2 separate regions of the Homo sapiens genome follow, and region 1 is linked to region 2. Evidence: promoter capture Hi-C in human tissues and cell types (Jung and others, 2019). All regions are on one chromosome and are shown on one strand. The core of a region is centred on a gene start or on the middle of the fragment in contact, and the rest is flanking DNA. Distances in the headings are between cores, read along the strand shown. Region 1 overlaps LOC105374294 (a long non-coding RNA gene). Region 2 holds the start of PPP1R2 (protein phosphatase 1 regulatory inhibitor subunit 2).

Region 1 (6,321 bases), core at 2,158-4,657, 560 kb after region 2:
AGCAGCAGTCAGCATCCAATAAGGAGGGCACAGAGAGTTTCCTATAAAGAACTGAGGTTGAGGCCGGGCGCGGTGGCTCACGCCTGTAATTCCAGCACTTTGGGAGGCTGAGGTGGGCGGAGCAGGAGGTCAGGAGATGGAGACCATCCTGGCCAACTTGGTGAAACCCCTTCTCCACTAAAAATACAAAAATTAGCCAGGCGCGGTGGCGGGCGCCTGTAGTCCCAGCTACTCAGGAGGCTGAGGCAGGAGAATCGCTTGAACCCGGGAGGGGGAGCCTGCAGTGAACTGAGATGTCGCCACCGCACTCCAGCCTGGCGACAGAGCTAGACTGCATCTCAAAAACAAAACAAAAACAAACAAACCAACAAAAAAAACTGAGGTTGAAACGAGGACACAGTCCAGGAAAGCCAGGGCATGAAGGGGATTTTCAGCAGAGCAGGAGTGAAAGTCTCTGCTTTGTAAGTCCTGGGAGGTCCATCTTGGTCTCCAGACTCTTCTCTGCAGTCATCAGGGTGACAGAGACTGACAGGGTGAGCAGAAGTGGCAACTGCAGAAGGCAGCTACTACTATTTCTGTGGCTGAAGGGGCGAAGGGGGACATTTAGAAACACAGCGGAGGGACCCTGCAGAGCCGACTTGAGGAGAGGTCTCTGCGCGCTGGCGCTGGGGCCCTGCAGACAAGGGCCCACTTGCCTGGGATCCCAACCTCTGAGCAGGGGTCTGAGCCGGCTCTTGGGCCACAGGGTGACGCAACTGCTTCTGCCAGAGTTGGAGAAGCTGCAAGCTGCGTTCCGCTGCGGCTCCGGTTTGGCACTGCCGGCTGTTGGCTGGGGAGGGAGACAACGAGCTCCCAGGAACAGGAAGCCCGCAGGAAGCGGACAGGGAGCAAATAGGAAGAGCAAGTCCTGCCTCCCGCACCAGCCTGGAGGTGCCGCTCTAGCGCCCGGGCTGCAGAGCCTACACAGACCCGGCTGGCAGAGCGGAGCCGCGGGCAGAGTCCCAGCTCCAGCATCACCAGTTGGCGCCCAGAGGACGGGCGTGGAGCATAGAGGTCGTGACTGAAAAGCGGCCCCAGAGGTCTCCCTGCAGGCCTTCTGGTGGGTGCGGGAGTCCGTGCGACAGCCATCTCCCTCGGGAGGCTGGCAACTTCTTGAGGTCAGGGACGTGCTGGCTTCGCTGTGCATCCTCCACGGGGCCTGATATCCTTCCCCAGGCAGAGCAGGCCGTCGTAAGCAGGTGTTATGCTGAAATGAGCTGCATGGCAGGAGCCCTTGTCAGGCAAGGTGTCCTGGGCAGCTCCGCAGCCCTCCCTGCCCAGCCCTCAGAGTTCCTGTGTGTTTTCCCGGGGCGTGGTTCCAGGCTTTCCCTGGAGTCCCGCATGGGGCCAGGGTGGGGGTGTTGAACACTGGACCTTGAACACAACTGGGGCAGGCTCTGCCCAGACCTGGCAGATGCACCCTAAACTTCCTTCTCATCCTCCTCCACCTGCAAATGAAGTCAACAGCAGGATCTTAGCTCCACCAGTTACAGACTGTCTGGCTTTGGGCAGGTTATTGGGCCATTCTGAGCCTCAGTTTCCCCAGAATGCCCTCTTCAGTCTCTTAATCCCTGCACCGGGAGACAGGAAGAGACTCTTGGCCCTCTTCATCCCATCCATTCCTCTCCCCTGTCTCCTGCTCCTTACTGGAGTGTGATTTTAACACAACACATCATAATTATGCTTTGAAAGGCAGTCAGTATTAGCAAGGCAGATATCTGTTTAGCTGGAAAAAAAGGAAAGATCCAGGTCAGCTGGGACTTGCTGAGCAGAGCTCATGGACAGCTGCAGGCGAGGCAGGGGGAGCAAAGGGGTAGAGAAGGCGAGGGAGGACAGGGGCTCTGCAACAACCTGAAGGAAGCAGGAGACCAGGTGGGCCCCATGCCCTGGGCTCCTGTGAATTCCAGAGCAGCTGAGCATTTAGACAGGAATCCTCAGGAGAAGGCTGGAGCCCCCCAGCCTCCAGCTGCATCAGGGCAGGACAGCAGGGCGACAGGCCCAGTGGGGTAAGGGACACAAAAGTGTTTATGGACCATGTGGGAATGGGATTAGGCCAGTGCTCAGTAAAGTAGAGGCTCTGATGAGATTTTATGGGCCATATCAAAGGTTTTTGTATAAGTTTTTCTCCCTCTTCCATCTCAAGTTCTTTCATGGCAGGTACTGGGTCTGAGTTTTCTCTGATGGTGCCCAGAGAGTATGTTGGGTGTATCTGGGGACCACACTCAAGTCTGGGTGAGTGTTTGGAGGGGCTTCTGGCAGCGTGGCCTATGCTACTGGAGAGCCATGGGTCTGTAAGCTCAGACAATGGTGTGAGCAGTGGCAGATGTGACATTTCCCAGCCAGGAGCCCTGGCAGGCAGGCAGAGGGGATCAAAGCACAGGGACCTCATTTTCAGCCAGAGAAGGGATTAATGAAGAGCCCAGTGTCCCAAAGGGAGGCTAATTGGGTTCCGAAGAGTGGTAAGTGTTCCTGGGCTCACTTGGCATGGTCCTACCCTCTGAGCCCTGTTTCCTCAAGAATTTAATTTAATGTCCCTTTGTTGAACGCAGCTGTTGGGGGAGGAGTGATTTGGGCTGTTTGGGCTGTTTTGTTTTCCTCCCTCTTTCTTTTCCATCTTTCCCTCCTTTCTTCTCTTGTGGGAAGATGCCAGTGCTTGGTGAACTGGCTGGTTGGGGTGTCCAGACCAACCTTCTCTGAGCAGGCCTTGAGCACAGAAAGCCCTGGGCTCCCTCCGTCTGCTCAGCAGCCCAGCCATCTGCCTTGCTCAGTCCCTGTGGAGACGTTTGCTGGGGCTGCCTTTCCTTGGAACTGGTGGGTGGGGTCTGGCAGGTGGAGAGATACCAGAGCCCAGGCTTCTAATGCTTTTTTTCTGGGATCCTGACATACAGCAGAGACTGGACATACCTCCCCTTCTTCCCTGCTTGATAACCATCCCTGCTGGGCCTCCCAACTTGAAAGGTGGGACCACAGTACTTGTAGAGAAGGACAGCTCTGGAGTTGGCCTGCCTGTGTCTGAATCCTGACTCTGTGTCACCCTGGGCAAGTCATTTAACTTCTTCAAACCTCAGTTTTTGCTCCTGTGAATTAACTAACCCAAAGAGATATTGTGAGTCTTACGTGAGACAACCAGGGTGAAAGTTCAGCACAGGGCCTGGGATATGGTAAGCATGGTGTAAGGATTATAAGCTTTTATTAGTAGGAGAGCATGTTGGTTTCCCATGGCTGTTTTAACGAATTACCATAAACTTATTCCCTCCCAGTTCTGGAGCTCAGAAGTTCAAAATCATAGACAGCCATGCTCCTCTGAAAGCTTTAGGGGATAATTTGTTTCTTGTTTCTTCCAGTTTCTGGTGGCTGCTGGCATTCCTTGGTTTGTGGCCTCATCACTCCAATCTTCAAGGCCAGCATCTTTGAATTTCTCCCTGATCCATCGTCACATGGCCTTCTCATCTGTGTGTGTGGTCAAATCTCCCTCTGCCTCACTCTGATAAGGATAAATGTGTGTGCCTTTAGGGCGTATCCAGATAACCCTCCGTCCCAAGATCCTTAATTTACTCTCATCTGCAAAGACCCCTTTGTTTTGCCATACAATGTAAAATTCACAGGTCACATGGATTAGAATACTGATTTTTTGTGGGGGCAGGAGTCATTTTTCAGCCTACCAAAGATGGAGCAAAGAATTGGAGTGAGGGGGAGACGCTTGAGTGCCTCATCGTCTTAGGACAGGCTCTCTAGTAGCAGACCGTGGGATGAGGTTCACTGTGCACACAGTTTATCAGGGAAGCGCTCCCAGGAGAAACTGGCAAGACAATGGGAGATGCAGGTCAGAGAAGGGGAAGAAACTCAGTAGGGTGAGATTTGAAGTCCCAGCCTGCTCTGGTTTGAATGTGCCCCCTAAAAGTTCATGTGTTACAAACTTCATTGCCAATGTAACAGTATTAAGACGTGGGGCCTTTAAGAGATCCTTGGATCACAAGAGTGGAGCCCTCCTGCATGGATTACTGCCATTATCATGGGAGTGAATTAGTTCTCTAGGGAGGAAGTTACTTCTCACGAGAGTGGGTTGTTATAAAATGAGCTCAGCTCACTTTTGCAGTCTTTTTCATATGTGCTTGCTTGCTCTCTCTCTGTATAATGCCTTCCCCAATGTTATGATGAGCAAGAAAACCCTCACCAGGTGCTGATGCCATGCCCTTGGACTTCCCAGCCTCCAAGACCATGAGCCAAATAACCTTTTGGTCTTTATAAATTACCCAGTATCAGTCATTCTATTAAAGCAACAGAAAATGGTCTAAAACACAGCATCATATTAATCCCACAGAGAGCTTTAAAAAAGGAAATTCACTGATGAAATTGAATCTCACTTTTATCACTACCCATTCCTATTTCCCTCCTTTCCTTTCCAGAGGAAGTTATTGTCATAAATTTGGTATGTGCCTTCTTGTCCACTTAAAAAATGCTTATAATATATATTTGTGTCCCTAATCATGTAAAGTATTATCTTCCACATTTAAAAAATTTATGTAATAAATTTATGTAATAAATAATCTTTCTCTCTCTCTATATATATGTCACTTTGATTTTTTCACTCATTACGGGGCTTAGAAGATCTGTTCATGTCAAGATACGCAGATATAGTTCATTGCTTTTCACTGCTGCTAATTAATATGTACCACTTTTACTTTAGATGAAAATTTAGGTTGTTTAAAAATGTTTTCATTATTACAAGGCTGAGGTGTTTTCTTACCCTCATAGAAGAGTTTCTCTAGGGTTGATGCCTTGGGAATTTTTTCGGTCATAAAATGTGTGCATTTTTCAATGTTAATAATAACTGCAAAGCTGTTCCCCAAATGGCTGTGCTAATTTATCCCCCACTAGCAGTGTTTCTGAAAGTTCCCATTTTCCTCATATTTTCACAAAGATTAGTATTTTCAGACTTTTAATTTTTTTCTAAAATATGGAGATTGACATGATATGAGAAGATTTCAACTTGTTTTCTGTGAGTGCTTCCATGAGTTGAGCGTCTTTTCATGTATTCATGACCACTTGGATTTCCTCTTCTGTGAATTACCCCTTTAAATCTCTTACCCTCTTTCTATTGGGTTGAGCGCCTTTTTCTTATTGAGTTGTAGAAGGTCTTTATATATTCTGAAGACTACCTTTTTGGTATTTCATATTGTAAACAACTTCTAATCTATCATTTTTTGTCATAAAGCATTTTGATTTTGATATAGACAAATCTATGAATTTTTAAACGGTTTGTTCTCTTATATCTTGAAAGCTTTTTATTACCTGATGTCATAAAGATTTTTTTTTAGTAGCTTAAAAGTTATATTTTTAATATATAGGCTTTAGCCAAACTGGAATTTATTTTTGTGCATGCTATGAGATAGGAACCTGATTTTATTCTTTTACATGGAAAGCCATTGTCCCAACACCAAGTATATCTATATATATGTAGTCTCTAAGCTCTCTGATCTATTAATTTGGTCTATTTTTTATTGCTCTATAAATATCACCCAGTTTTATTAGTATAGCTTTATAAGAATTGTTTATATCCTGTTGGTTAAGCCATATTCCCTAATCTCTTATTGTTCTTTAGAATTGCCTCGAATTTTCTTGATGGGATAGGTGAGATGAAACCTAGAAATCCTACAGTCAATTTTCTCCCAAAGGGAAGCCAGCCTAAAAGTAAAGCTGATACCATGGAAGGGAGAGCAGAGATAGGAAGATGCTCGGTCCTTAATGAGATTGTTGCTGAATCAAGCTACTCTGAAGCTGATCCTGCCTCTGCAACGTCTGTTTATCTAAACTAATAAATCTACTTTATTATTAACCAATTTGGTTGATTCTTCTGTACCCTGTAACCAAAGCTTTATAACGGATACCCCTGGTATATCTTTTTATGTCTATTTTCAAGCTCTGTCATTATGTTTAGTGCATTTCTTACAAACTGCATAATCTGGACATTGGAAGTGTACTCCGAGTGTCTATCTTTTAATAGGAAAAATTAATCCATTTACGATTTCTGTGATTACTGTGATGATTTGGATTTTTGTCTATCTTATTTTGCATTCTTCATGTATTGTTTCTTTGCCTTTCCCACTCCTTTTCTGTGGCTTTCTGTGAGACTGATTAGATTTTCTTCCCTCTTTTGCCCTCTACTGATTTGAAAATTATGCATGTGTTTCTGATCTTTCACTATTTTCCTAAAGCTTATAATATGCATACTTCACTGTGTATTTTTTGAACAAAGCCTGAAGTTAATCAACACTTTATCCT
Region 2 (5,708 bases), core at 1,370-3,869:
GCAATACAGCTAAATTCAGTGCTCGGGCTGTTTGGTCCAGATAACTTCCTACAGGAGCAAACCTCAGCAGAGGCACAGAAGGAGAGCTCTGTTTAGAGGCATTTGAAAATCTTATTTGGGCCACACTGAGGAATAAAGTAGTTCAACTATTCTGAAAGATAAGGAAAAGCAGGCCATGTGTGGTGGCTCATGCCTATAATCCCAGCACTTTGGGAGGCTGAGGCGGGCAGATCACCTGAGGTCAGAAGTTTGAGACAAGCCTGGCCAACATGATGAAACCCCATCTCTACTAAAAATACAAAAATTAGCTGGGTGTGGTGGCAGGCACCTGTAGTCCCAGCTACTCGGGAGGCTGAGGCAGGAGAATCACTTGAACCCAGGAGGCAGAGGTTGCAGTGAGTGGAGATTGTGCCATTGCATTCCAGCCTGGGCGACAGAGCAAGACTTTGTCTCAAAAAAAAAAAAAAAAAAAGCAGTACTGGCCCTCACAATTTTACAAACTATTTTTTTTTAAGTGCTACCAAAGTCATCTTCATCTGCATTCATTTGTTGTGGGTTTGGGAGTGGAAGAACCAGTACAGGAGACAAAAGTTTAACTCTTGATGAGGGAAATATGTTTCCAAGGTTCTTCAGAGAACTCTTCATCACCTCCTGTTCCAATGTTTGTTAGTTAATTAACTAATAAAACACTTTATGTCATACGATCGTAGTCCCTTTCATTAGAGGGTCTGAAAGCAAGCTGTTGCTTAATCAAGGGCCCAGTCACAGTTGAGTTCAGGGATGCTGAACTCAGTGATGCTTCCCAGCCCAAGCAGGAACAAAGCAAATCTGCCCAATAATTTGGAACATACAGGGAAGTTTGTGTATTCCCTTGAAAACAGGATTGCCATCACTGACCTAGACTCCTGCTGACAGGGCAGGAGACGCAACACAGGTGTTGAACACTGGGGTGGAAAGAACTCAGGAAGGGAAGGGAGGTGGCCATCCTGCTTCCCCTCGCTGAGAACCCTCTCTCTCTGCTCCATGGGCTGGACAGGGCTGTCAGGGTGTAATGTTAGATCCACTGAGCAGTCCTGGCCTGGGAGGGAGAGACGGCACCAGTGGATATTTGACTGGGAACAAAGGTGGGGACAGTGCCAACAGTGACTGTGCAGGCCCCTGGCTGAGGCAAATCCCTGGGGAACACATTCCACTCTGTGACCAGCAACCCTGTTTCCCTTCTCCCCTTCCAGCTCACTTCCCCTCCATTATCTCCATCCACATCCATTCCCATACTGAGGCCCTGTTCTGTGCCAGGAACTCATCTAGGAGCTAGGGGCTCGGGGCCAGACGATAAAAACAATCGTTTTCAGAACCCTACAGTCATCCCTGAGGGGCAGAGTCCTAAGGACACAGAACAGGGTCATCCTCAAAAGGCACAGAGCCTGTGTTAAAGAAGATGAGACTGTGGTCCAGAGATGAGCCATGGGAGTGAAACTGCTGCTATAGGGGCTAGATAGGGGAAAACGCTTCCTCTCACCCCCCACAGCAGTGGACAGACATTGCTGGGAGCGAGGTGTCAGCTCAATCTAAGAACTCCCAGAGTCAGAGCTGTCCAAAAACAAAATGAGTTACACGGGGGTGTGGCGGGCTTCTAGCCCCTGGGGTTGTTGGAGAAACAGGCTGAATAGCCACCTTATGGGCCTGCTTGACAAGGTCCCTTCCAGGACCAGTGGTCTGTGAATCCGCAGGGGCTGGTCCACCGGAGGGGCCAGTTCTGGGTGGCTCAGTCTGCTGTGCTCTAACCTGTGGTGAGGACGATAAAAAGGCCTGATCAAGAAAGAGTCATGGAAAAGAGCCTGGTGATGAGCGAGCTGCGGACTGGACTTGGGAGAGGGAGGGAAGGGAGTGTACAGGGACCATAACAAATACCACACACGAGGTGGCTTTAAGCAATGGAAATGGGCTCTCCGTTCTGCAGGCTTGAAGTCCACATCAACCTGCGGCAGAGTTGGTTCCCTCTGTGGGGGGAACCTGTCGCGGCCTCTGCGGGCCCAGGAGGTCCTTGGCTGGGAGATGTGTCCCTGCCGCCCTCCCGTCTCCTGCGCTCTCTGCCTAGACGGGTTGTGCGACGGCGGGGGTCGCTGCCCGTCTGTCCGTCGGCTTCTCCAGCGGTAAAAGGAGGTGAGGCGATTCCAATGCAGACATTCTATGATTTCATAATAGGCCTCTAAGGACCACTCCAATGCTGGCAGTCCATGCTTTTATAATAGGCAGTTCGGCTGTTTACACGGGCGAAATGGAAAGAGGAGATACCCGTTTTCTTCAAGTCAGCTAACCTCTCTGCGGAGTGACGTCACCTCGAGTCTCAGTCTGCTGATCTAAAAAATAAAAATAACACTACGGCCTCACAAGGTGGTGGGACGAGGGTGCTCGAGAGACGCGCGGGTCCGGGAAGCAGCAAGCCCGGGCGCTCTCCCGCAGGTTCTCAGAGACAGCTCCCGCCTCCCAGCGCCGCGCGGGGGCGGGGCGAGCAGCCCGGGCGGGACGGAGGGGGCGGGGCGAGGAGGTCGGCTTTGTTCTCGCCCCGCCCTCTCCCCGCCTCCTCCCTAGATATCGCGAGAGGGCGGGTCCGCTTGGCTTCGGCGTCGCGTCGCTCCTGCGCTGGAGCTCTAGGCCGGCGTCTCTCCGCGAGCCGCGGGTCAAGTGCCAGTGGCTAAGGGTGCGCGAGTAGCCGCCACCCGTTCGGCGTTGGCTCTGGCGTCGGGGTCGTTGTGTCGTGACAACCGCTGCGGTAGCCGTTTCCGAGGCAGCAGTTGCGGCCGCTTTAGCCCTGAGCGGGATCTGCGGCTGCCTGCGAGTCTCTGCTGTGCCGACCCTTCTCTTCGCGGACCCCACGCCAAGCAGCGACCCTGAGCCGACAGCCGGAGCGCCCGGCAATGGCGGCCTCGACGGCCTCGCACCGGCCCATCAAGGGGATCTTGAAGAACAAGACCTCTACGACTTCCTCTATGGTGGCGTCGGCCGAACAGCCCCGCGGGAATGTCGACGAGGAGCTGAGGTGAGCGCTGGGAGGGACGGCCTGGGAGCCCCTCCTTCCCGCCGGGCCCGTTACCTACCCAGACCCCAGGGGCGGGCGGGCGGCGTGGATGCGGCTCGGGTGCCGCTCGAGTCTCTTCTCCTGCCCGGCTAGCCGCGGGTGGGAGCGATCTTTAAGAAGGCTGGGCGATGACGTTTATCATGCTTCCTTTTTTTTTTTTAAGCATTTGGGCATATATAATATTTTTAAACATCATCTTTGAACTTTCTGTAATCGGGAACATCAAAGAATGAAATTGAAGCTTCAGATCTTCGACTGTTAAGCTTTTACTATTTCTTAACCTCATCTCTGAGGTATCTAAAATTCTTCGATAATTACAGTGTATTTTCTTGCTTTGGGAACCCTTTAAGATCTAGTCTCAAGCTAATAGGCGATCCGTCAAAGAAGAGACCATTTCCCCCATTAGCATTGTGCCACACTGTATTTCTGCATCTGCAACCAGAGTTTTGGGTGCTTTCTAGTTTTTGTTCCTGTTCAGAGATAGATCTAAGCTCAAAACAGTTCAAAGAGGAGCAACTTGAAATGACCCAGTGGTAATTTAGTTGCTCTTGCATACGCTAAAGATACACATGTAAAAAGTTGTTGACCTGAGCATTGTATGTAATATTTATAATATAATTGGAAACGACCGGAAGTCCATTAGTAAGAGCTGGTGAAATATTAATTACGGTACGTTTGTATAATGGAACAATATACTAGCCTTTAAAAAAAGAAAGGTAGGCGTTTATGCACGGAGAAAATGTTGCAGTACAGTATCTGTAGTGGGTTAGAAGTGCACGGGGGCTTGGGCGTTGCAAGATACTAAAAATAGAAGGACTCTACTTTCTGAAAATAAGGCTTAAGAAAAGTTACCATTGAAATTGGTAGTCAGAAGCTAAAATGAGGATGTTTGTGAAATCTCAGAATATAGGAACCTAGGGCATTCCTGGATAAAGGATCTTATTTAGGACCATAAAAGGAACTACTGCTTGGTGGTGGTAAATTTTAGGGATTTGTGTTACCTTGAAGGAAATATTGAGTAGGTTCATAGGTTAGAATCGTGGCCTTTTGGGGCTGGAAAGGACCTTAGTTTTTGTCTAGCAACTCCCACGCTCATGGATGCTTGAATCTTACATTCTCTCACACACAATTTTCCAACTTCTTTGGGCTAAGCCACGTTAAATGGAGTGCTGGGGGAGTGTGATGTGTAGGTCATGGAATTAAGAAGACAGAATTTCACCAGAACATAACTGAAGCAGGAGAACCAAGTTAGTTAAAAGATAAATAACATCCAGGCGTGGTGGCTCACGCCTGTAATCTCAGCACTTGGAGAGGCCAAGGTGGGAGGATTGCTTGATCCCAGGAGTTTGAGACCAGCCTGGGCAACATAATGAGACCTCATCTCTTAAAAAAAAAAAAAAAAAAAAAAAGGAAAGAAAAGAAAAGGAATTAAAAGATAAGTAACGTAACTACAGAAGGCTCAAATGTAGCTTCAGGGTTTTCAGCAGCAGGAATGTGGTCCTTACTGGCATTTATGTTATTTAGCTGTTCTCCAGTGTGAGTTTCTTTTGGTCCATTTACCAAGTGAGTTACTCTTTATCTCTGCTTCTTTAGTTTCTGTTTATTCTTAACTTGGATCTGCTGTAATTTCCCGTGGGCCCAATCTATGGATTGGCCTCTTTCTTTCTGTAATTGGTTGGGATTTACATTCAGGTCTTTCTGCCTCAAAAGCCACTATACTAGACTGACTCAACTGCATAGGGCTGCCTCTTCTGTAGTATCTGTGGCAGGGTAGATTCACTTAAAAGGGACTGACCTGTCGAGTTAGAGTTACAGTCCTGTCTTTAAAGAGAACTATCAAACCCTAATTCATTGAAGTTCATGATGTTTGGTTCCAAGTGGTAAAAAGGATGGGTTTTTTAATGATCCTTGTTATGTGACTGTAAAGCAAATAAACTAATTCTACTAGTAATACAATATAGTCTTAGTCTGTTTTCTGTTGGTCATAACAGAATGTCTGAAATGATAATTTATAAGAAACTGAATTTATTTCTTACGGTTCTGGAGGCTTGGAAGTCCAGGGTCTTAAGGGTGCATCTGGTGAGAGCGTTTTTGCTGGTGGGGACTCTGTGGAGTTCCAAGGTGGTGCAGGGCATCACATGGCAAGGAAGCTGAGCGTGCCAGCTCAGGTCTCTCTTCCTCTTCTTATAAAGCCACCAGAACCACTCACTTGATAACCCATTAATCCGTGAATAGATTAATCCATTCATCAGAGCAGAGCCCTCATGACCCAGTCACCTTTTAAAAGCTGTGCCTCTCCACACTGCCACATTGGAGATCAAGTTTCAACGTGAGTTTCAGAGAGGACAAACGTTCAAACCATACCAAATATACATTATTATTTGTCACAAGTCATGCAAACTTTATGAGATCCTCTTTGAACAGAAACAATAAATATACAGTTGGCCCCCTCCACAAATTCAGCCAATACCAAATAGCCCTTTACACTTGGGAGCCATTTTACACACCAGATTCACCAACAAAAATGCAGGAAAGGACCCTAAATAGGCCACGAAAAGGACACTTGTTTACAGTACAAGAGCTGAAACAAGAAAGCAGAGCGTCGCCTTGTTTGACCCCATCTGGGAAC

The links. Contacts are between HindIII fragments. The study calls those that stand out against the background at their distance.
Region 1: a contact is called between a fragment that was not itself captured here and the fragment with the promoter of PPP1R2 in region 2, in 2 of the 25 tissues and cell types used here (heart right ventricle and thymus).

What each region holds. Positions count from the first base shown.
Region 1 is chr3:194,979,848-194,986,168 of GRCh38, reverse strand. It overlaps LOC105374294 (a long non-coding RNA gene), which reads left to right. Exons shown (of 4, transcript XR_924873.2): 4 at 3,384-4,586. Among named protein-coding and RNA genes, the nearest start is that of XXYLT1-AS1, 110 kb to the left of the region's middle. The HindIII fragment of the contact is 5,353 bases long and covers 731-6,083 here.
Region 2 is chr3:195,540,236-195,545,943 of GRCh38, reverse strand. It overlaps PPP1R2 (protein phosphatase 1 regulatory inhibitor subunit 2), which reads left to right and starts at 2,619. Exons shown (of 6, transcript NM_006241.8): 1 at 2,619-3,040. The coding sequence starts at 2,919. RefSeq lists a silencer at 2,408-2,647 and an enhancer at 5,541-5,650. The HindIII fragment of the contact is 14,684 bases long and covers 1-5,343 here.